2 separate regions of the Homo sapiens genome follow, and region 2 is linked to region 1. The links are contacts of gene promoters, found by promoter capture Hi-C in human tissues and cell types (Jung and others, 2019). All regions are on one chromosome and are shown on one strand. The core of a region is centred on a gene start or on the middle of the fragment in contact, and the rest is flanking DNA. Distances in the headings are between cores, read along the strand shown. Region 1 holds the start of TACR2 (tachykinin receptor 2). Region 2 overlaps LOC101928994 (a long non-coding RNA gene).

What was found. The method cuts DNA at HindIII sites, captures the fragments that hold promoters and counts their contacts. A contact is called where the count stands out against the background at its distance.
Region 2: a fragment that was not itself captured here is called in contact with the fragment with the promoter of TACR2 in region 1 in 1 of the 25 tissues and cell types used here (lymphoblastoid cells).

The regions. Positions count from the first base shown.
Region 1 is chr10:69,412,682-69,419,979 of GRCh38, forward strand. TACR2 (tachykinin receptor 2) reads right to left here and starts at 4,237. Exons shown (of 5, transcript NM_001057.3): 1 at 3,251-4,237; 2 at 2,264-2,458. The coding sequence starts at 3,642. RefSeq lists enhancers at 4,007-4,741, 5,492-5,786. The HindIII fragment of the contact is 13,628 bases long and covers 1-7,298 here.
Region 2 is chr10:69,210,280-69,217,577 of GRCh38, forward strand. It overlaps LOC101928994 (a long non-coding RNA gene), which reads right to left. Exons shown (of 5, transcript NR_120648.1): 5 at 5,054-6,493. Among named protein-coding and RNA genes, the nearest start is that of HKDC1, 6.4 kb to the right of the region's middle. The HindIII fragment of the contact is 5,430 bases long and covers 272-5,701 here.

The DNA.
Region 1 (7,298 bases), core at 2,987-5,486:
TCTGTAAAAGGAGGAGGCCATCTCTAAGTCCTTCCTTAGCAGGAGCCACACTCCTCTGTTGCTTGCTCCTAGGATGTTGTGCAGGACAGGAATTCACCCTGGGCTAGGTCTCCATGCAGAAGGCAGAGGGGAAGAGTTCCAGGGACCGCCTTTGTTTGTTTTGTTTTGAGACGGAGTTTCACTCTTGTCGCCCAGGCTGGTGGCAATGGTGTGATCTTGGCTCACTGCAACCTCCACCTCCCAGGTTCAAGCGATTCTCCTGCCTCAGCCTCCCAAGTAGCTGGGATTACAGGCACCCACCATCAAGCCCAGCTAATTTTTATATTTTTAATAGAGACAGGGTTTCATCACGTTGGCCAGGCTGGTCTTGAACCCCTGACCTCAGGTGATCTGCCCACCTTGGCCTCCCAAAGGTAGTCTTTTTGTATTTTGATTTTGGGGGTGTGTGCGCATGTTCCTGAAGAGGGCATCTTTAATTTCATCAGATTCCTAATTACACACAGTTACATGAGCCTGTGTGGATGGAGCCCTCATCCTAAATTAGGCTCTCCCCCAAGAAAAACAATAACACATTCTCACACTTAAAACCAGGCTTTCCCCAAATCCTTTCGGAATTTTAAGCAACACCAAAGTATGGCTTTCCTAGCCCACCCCTGCCCGCCTGTTTTTCCCAGTCGCCTGAATCTGGGATGGAACTCGCTGTTCTCAGAGAGCTGGCACGCACAGTGGTCCTGTATGAAGATGGAGAAATACCGACCCCAAGTGGCCGGTCTCAATATGTTCTGCTCTCCACCCTTTGCTGAGCCAGAAAGCCGGGCATTCCCCATATATGGATATCGCCCTCCGTGAGAGGGTGGGGTGCAGGGAGGGGGCAGAGACCCTGGGCAGGGCCTGCCCTCGAGACTCGCCAGTCCCCAGGAACGGCTTCTCAGAAGAATGGCACCTTCCCTATCCCTGAAGCCCACAAGAGCAGCCTTCTCCTGGCAGGTGCTCAGGACAGATGGAGACCAGGCAGGGAGGATGTTGGAGGAGAGGTGTGTTGCCATGGCTACCTGGCAGCCCTCACCTCAGACCATGCACACCCTCATGCTTGGGGCAGCTGGGACTTTGTGGGAAGGATCTGCCACCCCCAGGTGTGTTTTCATGTGTCCCCTATTTAAGCTGCCACATACTGGGTACCAGTTCTGTGCCAGGCATGGTGCTAAGGGCTTCAGGTACACTATCTCATTTATGCTCACAGAGCGAGGTACTATTATGAATCCTCATTTTAGAGAGAGAAAGCCAGAGGTTCAGAGGTTACGTGAGTGTGAGGCATCCTCCGGCCACGTGGGACCAGGCCACGACTTGGGCCTGACTGAGCCCAGAACCCCAGTCGGTTCTTTAGCCTCTACCAAGCAATGGCTCAGTGCCTGGGGACCACAAAGACACATCGTGAGATCCTCAGAAACTGAGGCCGGAATGGAGAAAGGACTCACCCAGGGTCACACAGCAGCTGGGCCATGCCTGAATTCCTCTAACCCTGCCCTCCCTGCCTCCAGCCTGTGATGCCCACCTCAGCAGCCTGAAAATGTCCCAGGCTCCATCATGGACTCGTTCTGCCTCAGTCTCCTGCCGCTTTGTGGCCTGAGCATATAGAGAGTCTCCCCCAGACACACGCCTACACATGTCCCTAACACGTGCCTGTGTGCAAACACATCTACAAATATGCCCACACACTTGCACGTGTACACACAGGCAGAAATGGGTGCCGCATGTTCACGTGACATGTACAGTCACATACACGTGTGCATGCATGCATATCCTTATCTAAGGATGCAAGGGTGCATATTTGAGTAGCAGAGTGGTGAGGAGATTGGGCCCTGGGCAGGATTGCTTAGATTTGAATCCATAGCTGGATTCAAATGACTAGCTGGATTTGAATTACTAGCTGTGTGGTTTTGGGCATGTTACTTAGTTTTTCAGTGCCTCAGTTTCTTCATCTAAAAAATGGTAAGAATAATAATATAATATATATCCCACATAGTTAGGAGAATTAAATGGGTCAATATATGTAAAGTGTGAAAAACAGATCGGCTACATCGTGTGTGTTGCTTACTAAGCATATAGGTATATTCACACAATCCCGTGTACACTCACTCATGTGTACACCCATGCATGCACACCACACATGCATGGACATGGATGCATGCACGCGTGTGTACACACACACACACAGACTCACACACACACACTGTTGCCCTCCACAATCCCCCAGAGGCCTTACAGGAGGAGCGTCTTGCCCCCGCTGTCTTCGGGCCAGGCCACCACGCACTTGGTGGCACCCTGGTCCATGGTGACGGTGGAGTAGAAGCACTGAGGGGAGGCCAGGGCGAGAGCCACCAGCCAGATGCCAGCAATAACCGCCTTGGTGCTGGGAGCTGAAAGCCGAGGCTGGAAGGGGTGGACGATGGCCATGTACCTGTGAGCAGAGGGCAGCTTGAGCGGCAGGGGCCCTCCTGTTAGCCCAGCTCCCTTTCCCCTGTCTCCCTCTCTCCCAACCCAGGCCCACGCCTTCTAGCCATTCCCCGCACTGCTGCCATCTGCTGATATCATAGTATCAGCCGACCTGCAGAGAGCCCGCTGGGTGACTCTCCCACAGCCACACAGCACACTGATGCCTTGGAACCCCGGCCCAGGCACCTCGGCCCACCATTTCCCTCTGGGCATGGACATGCCCGTGGACGGCCACAAGAAAGCCACACTGGAAGCCCATCTCAGGGCAAGATCAAGCATCCAACATTAGCCTGAAGCTCAGCCCTGAGCAGCGTTGGGAAAATAATTGGCCCTATTAGATTGTAACTGCAAGCAAACTTAACATTTTCCCCTCGTGTAATCTATCCGGAATAATAAAAAAAAAACTGTATAAGACATATCTTTGGAGTGAAATAAAGACAACAAAACAAAGATCAACTCCAGGAAAGAACACTTCAGAAGGTCGCTAAAACATTGCCCACTTCCCCTACAGACTTGAACAACCTGTCTAGTGCATCTAGTGCAAAGTCCTTCTCTGTGTCTAACCCTCAGTCTACCTTCTTCAGCTCCACAGTCCCCCTGCCTTCCAGATTCATAGTTTTGGACCATGACCAGATTTGGGAAGCCATTCCCATGGTTCTACCCAAACTTGCTGTGTAATCACAGGCATGTCACCACCCTTATCTGAGCCCCGGCTCAGTGGGGAGGCTCCCCCCAGCTTCCCCAAGGACCCTCTTGCCTGTCGGCAGCAATGGCGGTCATGGAGTAGATGCTGACAAACATGGCTGTGATGGGGAAGAGGTTCTGGAAGTAGCAGAAGGCACGGCCAAAGTACCAGATGTTGTGGCTGGCATAGACAAAGTTGAAGGCGGCATTGAAGGCAGCCATGCAGAGGTCAGCCAGCGCCAGATTGACGATGAAGTAGTTGGTGACTGTGCGCATCCTCCGATGGGCCAGGATGATCCAGATGACGATGGCATTACCCGTCACGGCCACCAGCACCAGGGCCAGGTAGGCTGTGGCCCACAGTGCCAGTTGCCAGCTGGGCATGGAGAAGGCTGTGATGCCCGTGGTGTTGCTCTCAGGGCCAGATGAGATATTGGCTTCAGTCACAATGTCACAGGTCCCCATGGCTGCTTCTGGGTCTGGAACAAAGGACCTGGCTCCTCGGCTCCTCTCGGATTTGCTATGAAAGAGAACTCCCCTTCAGAGCATGGGAATATGGGGGCAGGGAGAGGAGCAGATGCCAAGCGTGGTGGCACATCAGGAGAGCCTGGGGCCACTCCTAGGTCTCAGGCAAAGATGAGCTGGGCTGAGCACAAAGCCCAGTCCAGAACCATTGTCATTTCAGATTCCATCCTTCCGGCCAGACTTCTCGAATATCATGTGGAAACACAGAATTCAAATCACAGTGTCAGAGCAGAAAACACCCTTATAAATCAACCCCTTCGCTGAAGAGATGGAAGACAGAGATTCCAAGAGGGGACGGGACCAGCCCAGGTCACTCAGGAAGTTGGTGACAAGTTAGGACTCGAACCCAGGTTTCTCGTCACGTAATTCAGGAAACCTTCCAGATCAGAGGAATGCACAGCGGGAGTCTCTGGAGTCCACAGGTCAATGGCGCAGCAGCCTCTCTCCAGGCTTTGGGCTGCAAGCCGGGCTGGGTGCTGGGTGCTCAGGGCTCTGCCAGCTGCCAGCCCTCGCTGCAGCTTCCCTGCCGTTCTCTGGGGCAGGGCCAGTGGGGGCCTTGGCAGAGGTGCTGCCTGCTCACGAGGGGGGGCTTTGGCTCCCGCCCCTGGTCCCACCCCCTGCTTGGCCTTGTCTCTTGAAAGATTTAGGACTGGCTGCAGAGGCAGGGAGAGACTTGGGGGAGATGGGGCTGGTACAGAGGGCCCAGCTCTCGGCGGATGTTGACTTTCAGCCCAGGACAGGAGCTACGTCTGAAGAGTGATTCTGAATACAGAAGGAGTTCGAGCCTGGTTTGGTGACTCCAGGCAAGTCTCTTAACCTTTCTGAGCTCTGTCTACCCCATCTGAAAAATATAGAAAAATGGTGTGCATCTTACAGTACATTTGTGAATTTTAAATGGAGATAATGTGCACAAAGTCTACTTAGCACAGGGGTTGGTACATAAAAACTATGATTGGAGTTTCTGGCCCGAAGGGAGGACCCCACAGCTCTGGGCGCTCTAGGAGGAGAAGCCAGAACCCGGAGCGTTTCCAGCGAGTTCCCAGGTGATACTGATGCTGCTGGAGCCAGCACTTCACTTTGAGAACCACTGTCTTAGGACAAAGTCAGGGCTCTTCCGGGAACCACAGCAAAGCTGGAGTTTTAACTCCTGAGAAGCTGCTCTAGGTTTGCCCCAAGATCCCTGCTCCTGGTCATTGACTGTGTGCACGTGTGTGAAGCAGTGAAGATGTTTCTGAGCAACTGTATGTGCGGCTGACGTGTTAAGCTCACACACACGCATGAACCTGTGCACACCTGTGGTGTGTGGACCATGAAGGCAGGGCAGGATTAGCGGGAGTCGGGGGGGCATGTTCTTCATTAAAGCAGAGGAGGCTTCTCATTCACCAGCAACCCACGGCACAGCAGCCTCTGTGCTCCCAGGGCTCTGCCTTGCACCGCCTGGGTTTCTCGTGGCTGGGCCTCGGCCCCCACACTCCCAGTCCATTTTCTGCTTCTCCCTGTGTGTCACTTTCCTGACACCCAGCCCTTGTCTCCCGGGGTGAGCTGAGAAAGACCTTTAAAGGTCTCTAGTGCTGAAAAGATTATGCCACCCATGGAATCCAATATAAAAACAACACTAAACCATAAGTCATGAAACTTAAACATGCTGAAATTGAAAGAGCTTCTTTATGGATTTTTCTGATTATGAACTTCTGGGTAAGTTCATCGACAATCAACACTGAAATTGTATCTATTGTTTGGTCTCCCTGCTGTGCAGATGTGAGGAGCATGTGCTGGGTCGAATGGGAACCCCATCCTTGCCCTTGGGGAGGGAGTGCTTCCTGGGCCCCTACTCCTCCCGTGGGTGTGTGCCTGTGTGCCTGTTTCCTCTCTGGAGTGGCCTGTTTGGACTTTGGACCCTAGCAGAAGGGTCTCTGCCTTTGATCTCTGTTGGTGGCGGCAACAGTAGCAGTACTTTAGGGTTTGCTTCTGTCTCATGCCCATCTGGCCAGGGTCCTAAAGAGCAGAATGTGTAGAAATAAGAATGGAAGCCCAAGACAGCCTGCTCTTTTTGCTGTCCTCCTGCTCCCAGGCAGTGGGAATTTGTTGAGCTTCAGGTGCAAACCCAGTGCAGGGCTGGGATGCCTGAGCGCCTGTCACCAGTCACAGAAGCCCAGCAGAGTTCAAGTTCCTTCCTCCCCACAACATCCCGCCACCTCCACTGTTTATGTAAAGGGGATTATGTTTTGGAGCTTGTACATCTGAGTTTTTATTTTCCCCTTAAATTATCTGCTCTTGCAGCCTTCCAACTATGTGCTATGGTTTGAAGCCTCGTGAAAGGGGAAGATGCGGGCCACCCAGGATGAAGGGGTTCCTGATCAGCTTTGCTGCTTGGCACTGGCCTTCTGAGTCCATAGCTAGACAGCGATCCCGAAGGCCAGTCCTTATTTTATTTTATTATTTTAGATGGAGTCTCACAGTGTCGCCCAGGCTGGAGTGCAATGGCACGATCTTGGCTCACTGCAACCTCCGCCTCCTGGGTTCAAGCGATTCTCCTGCCTCAGCCTCCTAAGTAGCTGGGATTACAGGTGTATGCCACCACACCTGGCTAATTTTTGTATTTTTTTAGTAGACAGGGTTTCACCATGTTGGTCAGGGTGGTCTTGAACTCCTGACCTCAGGTGATCCACCTGCCTCAGCCTCCCAAAGTGCTGGGATTACAGGCATGAGCCACTGCGCCTGGAAGGCCAGTCCTTTTAAAGGAGAAAAAAAAATGCCGGGCACGGTGGCTCACACCTGTAATCGCACACCTGAGCTGATGGTGCCAGTTGCGTGCATCCAGGAAGCAGACCCTGCTGTGTAAGAAACACACCAGCTGTTTCTCAGGGAGCTACCACTGGGGTCAACACTTGGGGCAGCAGACAAGGCAGGAAGCAAGTGTGGCTGAAGCACGGCATCGTGCTGTGGTCCAGGCCTACAATAGCCTTGGTAACCCCATGGGTAATTGGAACTGGGATAGCTTCAGAGTTGCCCCGTGTGGGGCAAAGTTAACCAGGCCTTTATATTTCCACATTGGTCACTGGACGTGGGCCACCCCAAGAAATCATGTGATTGTTGTCAAGGCAGTTGAGGCGAGGCCTGCAGTCGGGGACGCTAAACATGGTGCTGGTACTATATGCCTGCCCGGCAGCTTGAAGGGGGCCTGGGAAGCGCAGGGCAACGTCCACACAGCTAGACAGCAGCCACTCCTTCAGACGGGCGTGCGCTGGCAACTGTGCCTTGCTGGTTGGTGTAATTGTGACCTCTGGGCTAGAGGCTTAAAGACCAGAGTTGGGAGAGGAATGATCTTCCAGGGAGTTTGAGGAAGAAAAGGTGGGAGAGCTGTGGTGTGTGAGAGAAGTGGGTGGGAGAGGAAAGGCGGCTCCAGAAAGCACTGTGGATGAGGCGTTGCTATCAGCGCCTGGGGGATGCTCTTGAGAGTGGCCTATCTCTGTTTGGGAGGCTGCTCTGGGCCCTAGCTTCAGAGGTCACAGACAGCATCGCGGGACACTAGCGCTGAGGGTCACCCTGTCACCAGGGCAATGCTGGGGGTGCCAGGAGGTGGCCGAAGTGAGAGG
Region 2 (7,298 bases), core at 1,737-4,236, 200 kb before region 1:
TCATGGGAGTAAAGGCTGAGTGGGTGGCACTGACTCTATTTCCTCCTTGCTTATGGATAAACTAGTGAAATGCCTGGAAGGGCTTATCTCTTGATATTCTGCAGTGGGGCAACTGCAGCTTCTAGAATTTGCTTACCCCTGTAACTTACACCATAGCAGACATAATCATTCTTGTCCAGATGGTTACAAGAAATACCTATGAACTGAACCAAATAGTGGATTTGGTCCCATCGTATGTAAGTGATGGGGTGCATCACTTAGAATGCTGTTAACTCTCCCATTTTCTCCAGTTTGGGGGCCAGAGTTGTTAAGTCAGAGAAAGGACTTAGGCAAGACACTTAAAAACTAAGGCAAGTGAAAAGTCCTGAATATGTTAAATAAAGAAGTGGCTGGGTGCAGTGGCTCATACCTGTAATCCCAGCACTTTGAGAGACCAAGGCAGGAAGATTGCTTGAGGCCAGGAGTTTGAGACCAGCTTGGGCAACACAGTGAGACCCCATCTCTACAAAAAATTTAAAAAATTAGCCGGATATGGTGGCATTCACCAGTAGTACAGCTCCTTGGGAGGCTCTGGTGGAAGGATCACTTGAGCCCAGCGTGTTGAAGCTGCAGTGAGCAGTGATCATGCCACTGCATTCCAGCTTGGACAACAGAGCGAGACCCTGTCTCTAAATAAGTAAATAAATAAAGCCTCAAATAAGAGAGGTGGGGGTGGGAGGTCCTGTAAAGGAAGGGCTGCTTGAACATTCAGCTAACGAGCATTTATAGTGATAGTTTGCCCTTTCACGTCTCCTTCCTTTGGAGGGAAAGGAGGGAACTGTGGTTAGAAGAAGAGACAGACTAAAGAAAAGATGGCAGCATGTGAAGCAAAACAGGAAAAATAGAATTGGAGTGGCCCTGGAGAATTATCTTCAGTGTACCTAAAATTGTCACCAAGAAAGCAGCCTAGTCTTCCTTCTCTGCAACAAGCTTGTCATGTCACTTATCTTTCTTTGTGGGCTTCAGGGCCAGCTAAATTCCAGGCATTCATTTCCATTTCACTATGGTCATGTCACTCTTTGTGAGAGACAGCTCTTTCCTGTCCTTGCAGTCTTCTCACGGATTGTGAAGTACTCACCTGAGAGCCCTCCGTGGATTATTATGGATTCCACTGAACTTAAACATGGGATGTGGACTAAGGCTTAGAGACTAATCTCAACCTATCACTATACAGACCTGATAATTTAATAAAATGTGATTAGAAAATGACTGGGAATAATATCCAGTGACTTGTAATGTTTTGTATGTTACATATATGGAAGAGTGTAAATCTGCAAAATGAAACTCTTGAAAAGTGACTGTAAATCACAAATATATAAAACTATCATCACAAATTAGAGTCTCTTATGACTCAAAACTGGGAGTCTGTAATTATGATGCAGTCATTCTGTGTGTGTCTAACTCAAACCTATTAGGATGTAATGAAAAGTAGAGATTTGCTATGGGACAGGCAAATGGATAAGGGAGTCATGCTGAGATTTCCCTCCCCTGTTTCACAGCTTTAAAATACATAAACCTGGCTGGGTGCAGTGGCTCACGCCTGTAATCCCAACATTTTGGGAGGCTGAGACGGACAGATCGCTTGAGCTCAGAAGTTCAAGACCAGCCTGTGCAACATGGCAAAACCCTGTCTCTACAAAAAAAGCAAAAATTAGCCCGGCATGTTGATGTGCGCCTGTAGTCCCAGCTACCTGAGAGGCTGAGGTGGGAGGATCACTTGAGCCCAGGAGGCGGAGGTTGCAGTGAGCTGAGATGGCACCACTGCACTCCAGCCTGGGTGACAGTACCAGACCCTGTCTCAAAAAAATAGATAAACCTCCACCTATAGTATCTCTAGATAAAGTAATTTTTAAGTTTTCTTCTGTTTCTTACGTTATTCTAATTCCTTTTTTTTTTCCCAGCTTGGTTTGATTTCTACCTTTATTGTTGGAAACTTGTCTCATGTGTCTAGCGATCCTTGCCTGTGTCTATGTTTAAAAGTGAAGAAATAAGCTAATGGAGAGCTCTGTTTATAGGCCTAATGTCTTTTCAGTTTTTATGCAGGTTGATTGGATGATAAGCTGGCTTTTTAAATGATTCCCTAAATGTCAGTATCTGTAAGGTTTATTTTACTTTATTTTATTTTTTGAGTCAGAGTCTCATTCTGTTGCCCAGGCTGGAGTGCTGTGGCATGAACTCTGGTCATACAACCTCTGCCACCCAAGGCCAGGTGCAGTGGCTCACGCCTGTAATCCCAGCACTTTGGGAGGCCAGTGGGGTGGGAGGGAGTGAATCATGAGGTCAGGAGTTCTAGACCAGCCTGGCCAATATGGTGAAACCCAGTCTCTACTAAAAATATAAAAATTAGCTGGGCATGGTGGCGCGTGCCTGTAGTCCCAGCTGCTCAGGAGGCTGAGGCAGGAGAATCCCTTGAACCCAGGAGGCGGAGGTTGCAGTGAGCCGAGATTGTGCCACTGCACTCCAGCCTGGGCGACAGAGTGAGACTCCATCTCAAAAAACAAACAAATATACAAATAAACAGAAAACAACCTCTGCTTCCCAAGTTCAAGCAATTCTCCTGCCTCAGCCTCCTGAGTAGCTGGGATTACAGGCGTGCACCACCACACCCAGCTAATTTTTGTATTTTTAATAGAGACTGGGTCTCACCATGTTGGCCAGGCTGGTCTCGAACTCCTGACCTCAGGTGATCCCAAAGTGCTAGCATGAGCCAACATGCCAGGCAGTATCTGTAAGGTTTTTTGTTTGTTTGTTTTTGAGATGGAGTTTTGCTCTTGTTGCCCATGCTAGAGTGCAATGGTGTGATCTCAGCTCACTGCAACCTCCGCCTCCTGGGTTCAAGCAATTCTCCTGCCTCAGCCTCCAGAGTAGCTGGGACTACAGGTGCACACCACCACAGCCAGCTAATTTTTGTATTTTTATTAGAGATGAGGTTTCGCCACGTTAGCCAGGCTGGTCTCAAACTTCTGACCTCAGGAGGTCCACCCAGCTTGGCCTCCCAAAGTGCTGGGATTACAGGCGTGAGCCACCACGCCTGGCCTGTAAGGTTTTTTAAACATAAACTTAAAAAAAAAAAGTTAGGATAGTTTTAGATTTGCAGAAAAATTGCAAAGATAATACAAAGAATTCCCATATACCCAACACATTTCCCCTATTAACATCTTACATTTCCCCCATTAACATCTTACATTAGTATGGTACGTTTGTTATAATTAATGAACCAAGACTGATACATTATTATTAACTAAAGGCCACAGGTTTTTAGATCTCCTTAGTTTTTACCCAGTGGCCTTCTTCTCTTTTGGATCCCATCCAAGACACCACATGACATTTAGTCGTCTCCTTAAGCTCCTCTTGGCTGTGACAGTTTCTCAGACTTGCTGTAGATGATCTCAACAGCTTTAAGTACTAATCACGTATTCTATAGACTATTCATCAGTTGGGATTTGTCTGATGTTTTTCTTATGATTAGACTAGGGTTTGGGTTTTGGGAGAAAGAGCCCAGAGGTAAGGTGCTGGTCTTATCACCTCATATCACGGATCTGTACTGTCAACATGACTTCACCCTGCTGAAGTTGACCTTCATCACATGCCTGAGGACAACGTGTCAGGTTTCTTCACTGTCATGTTACCCTTTTCTCATTTTCCATACTGAACTGTCTGGAAAGAATCACTGTGTATACTGTGCTCCACCTCTTTGAGGGTGGAGTATCTGTGTTCATTCTTCTGCATGGGAGATTGGTCCTTTCTCCCTCACTTATATATTTATACAATTATTTGTTAACATCAGTATGGGCTAATGGAAATGTAGACTTTGGGTTATAATCCAATCATACTTTATCTTGCCCAATTTTTTCTTTCTTTCTTTTTTTTAACACTCCTATCAATGTTTTCTAGCTTTGGTTATTAGGAACTTTTTCACTTTCAGTTGGCTCCTGTGTTCCTTTGACACATCCGTATCATTTGGTTTTTGTTTTGTTGATTAGTTCCTTCCTTTCTGGCACTACAAGATGCGCCAGGACCATCTTGTATAGACCTGGTTCTTTGATCTGGGCACTAGGTGTGCTTGTTGCTACTGGGTGTCATTACTTCTAGTGTTTCTCAGCTGACAAAGCAAGGACATATGCACGTGTATACTAAGCTATATACACGTCTTCAAATCTTTATATAAACATATATGTATAGTCATCTATATGAATATCAAGCTAAACATGAGTGTATACTGATGTCCTCAATTCTAATCCAGTGACATGGATCATTCTAGCCTTCTCCCCTGCTTGAAGCCTCTCACTCCAGCAGCAAGAAACCTCCCTCCCGCCATCCACCATCCATGTACTTAATTGTTCAATTCCAGTATTCTTGTGTAGTGGTTTCAGAATTGTTAAGCGTGCTCTTGCAGGAAGCAACTTTATCAATCAGAATACAGTGCTACATACACTTCCTTTTACTTGTAGTCTTACTCTATTAATTTCCAAAGTTTCTTAGGTCAGCATATTTTCCCTCCCCTTCCCCTTCAGTGAGGCTATTTCACACACTTGCAACACAGTTAGACTCATGTCACAGTCTGTGTTGCGTCGCTGACCTCCTAAATGTTTTTTTGAATGTATGTACATTAAAGTTCATTCTTTGTGCTGTCAAATTCTATGGGTTTTGAAAGTGTGTCATGTATTTGCCGTTACAGTGTCATACAGAATAGTTTCACTGCCCTAAAAACGCCCTTGCGTTTCACTTATTCAGCATCCCCCACCTTTCCAAATCCCTGGCCACTACTGACTTGTTTACTGTCTCTATAGTTTTCCCTTTTCCATACCTGTGGGTTTGGGTTTTTTTGGGGTTTTTTTTTTTTCCGCTGAGATGGAGTCTGGGTCTGTCGCCCAAGCTTGAGTGCAGTGGTGCAATCTCAGCTCATTGCAAAATCTGTTCCCCAGGTTCAAGCTATTCTTGTGCTTCAGTCTCCTGGGTAGCTGGGATTAGAGGTGTCTACCACCATGCCTGGCTAATTTTTTTTTGTATTTTTAGTAGGGATGGGGGTACCACCTGGGCCAGGCTGGTCTCGAACTCCTGACCTCAAATGATCCACCTGCCTTGGCCTCCCAAAATGCTGGGATTACAGGGGTGAGCCACCGTGCCTGGCCAAGCTTTTTTATATAGCTTTTTAACCAATCTCTTGTTTTTGGCTCTATGTCTTGCCCCAGACCTCTGATTCCTGAGCATTTTAGAGTTTTACAAACGTCACAGCTCCTTTCTCACCCGAGTCACCCTCTGCGGGCACTCAGGTTTCAGTGTTTGCTCTACTAAGCAATTACTTCCGTGAGCTTCCTGTCTTCCAGAATTATGTTAAGATCTCTTATCAGTCACTGTTTCCTTTCTTTTTGTCCTTGTAGGTTAATGCCGTGTTTAACCAGAAGTCTCATTTGCTTTGAAAAGTTGGTTATTTTGTGCAATTGAGATTGTAATTATTCTGAAAAATGTTAAAAGTCACATGAACTGCATTTTCTTGTATGGCTTTTCTTTCCTTGATAGGTGTTTTGCAAATATGACCCTTAATGTACAGTTGTGATTTAGAAATCATGTCAGAATTTCTTCCTGAGCATTCCTTGTCTTCGGTTCAGAATAAACCTGTAAAAATGATTAGCAGCATTCTTTTGAAACTTGCTGAGGTTAGCATTTCTGCTTCATTTGTGGCTGCTCCGATAGAGACACCATTGTGACTGTAACCACTGGCAGCGTTTGGAAGTCTCTACATTGGTTTTCTTATTATGGAAGTTTGCTCTCCCACACAGTTTCTGATTCTTTTGCAGCAAGTGGAATACCAGCAGGTCACACTGATTTATGTTATGACGACTTAACTTTGGACTTACCATTAAAAAGAATACAGGGCAGAATTCAAGAGCTGTTTTCTTTAGTAACAGGAATAGAATTTCCATAAAATTCCCAACTGTTCCTTTAATTCCAGTACATGGAACAGGTACTTTCTAATGGTTTAGGATCATGCCTTACTGAGTGGACTGAAAGGTCTGCACACATTTTCTTATCCCAAGAGACCAAGTTGGGTGAGCGAAGAGGGGTCCCCAGCCAGGGAAAGGCTGAGCTTCAGGAGATGCTTCTAGTGTGCCCACTGTAGACCACATGCCTTTCCTTGTGTGATAATTTGCTTTCTTTCTCACTGTGACCACTGACATAGCTATGAAGCTTTTACAGATATGAATATAGACTTGGACCTTTACCTGCAGTTTAAGAAAAGCCAAAGTAGGACCCCAGGGCCTGTGCACTTTCCACTGTGTTAGAAAGAGCTTAGGGCCATTTTTCCAGCTGAGGCCCCAAGTCTCCCCGTGCCTTGTTTCCAGCCTAGCCAGTGTAGCACAGCGGGCAAGCAAGAACTCTGCAGCTAGACTGCCTGCGTTCAAATCTCGATTTCACTGCGTCCCAGTTGGGCTCTGTGCCTTGGTTTCTCCATCTGTAAAATAGGGAGAATGACAGTTACTGTGGAATTAATATCGTAAGACATCTAGTAAACCCCATGGGGAAGTGTTTGCTAAATAAATAGGTAAATTTTGCTGGACTTCTAGTCCTCCCACCATACTCAGTACTTAAAGAGAAACAGAAATTATCTTTGAGCCTTGCCAAAACGGACCGTGTAGATTAAAGTGGAGCTCTATGAAACGGAGATGTGTCTACAGATGGGAGAGTTTCCCTTCTTACATGGAAGATTTGGGCCAGATGGGTGATACGCTTTAACTAAAATGTCACTTGTCAGTGTCGGCCCTCAAATGGGTGTTCTTAAGCAAAATCCAACTACTTATAAGATTTAAACCTAGATATCCTTGAATAGCCAATAGAACTGTAGTAAGGGTGAAAAATCCCAAGACTTGAATTGGAGTAATCAGATGAGGAATGATAAAATAACCTAATTATTTTGTCTTGATTCTATAAAGTGAGAGGGCTGAGCTAGATGACTCCAAATGCATGTGATCTCTGTAATCATTAAACTTCCTGGTTTAGTCACCTTACTCAGGCCTGGAATGTAGACGCTAATGTGCTCAGATTAAAAAGGGAATGATGCAATAGATGAAAATCCTCTGGTGTCATTTGCCTGATTAAAATTCCAAAGGCTGCCTATCTGACTCACACAAGCAACCGTGAGATTACAGAGATCTTTGGTTATGGTTTGCATCTTTTGACCACTGGCTACTGTAACCTCTTATCCCTATGTCGAACAAATCAATGACAGTTGGTTCATACTGCACTGCCCAGGTTACATT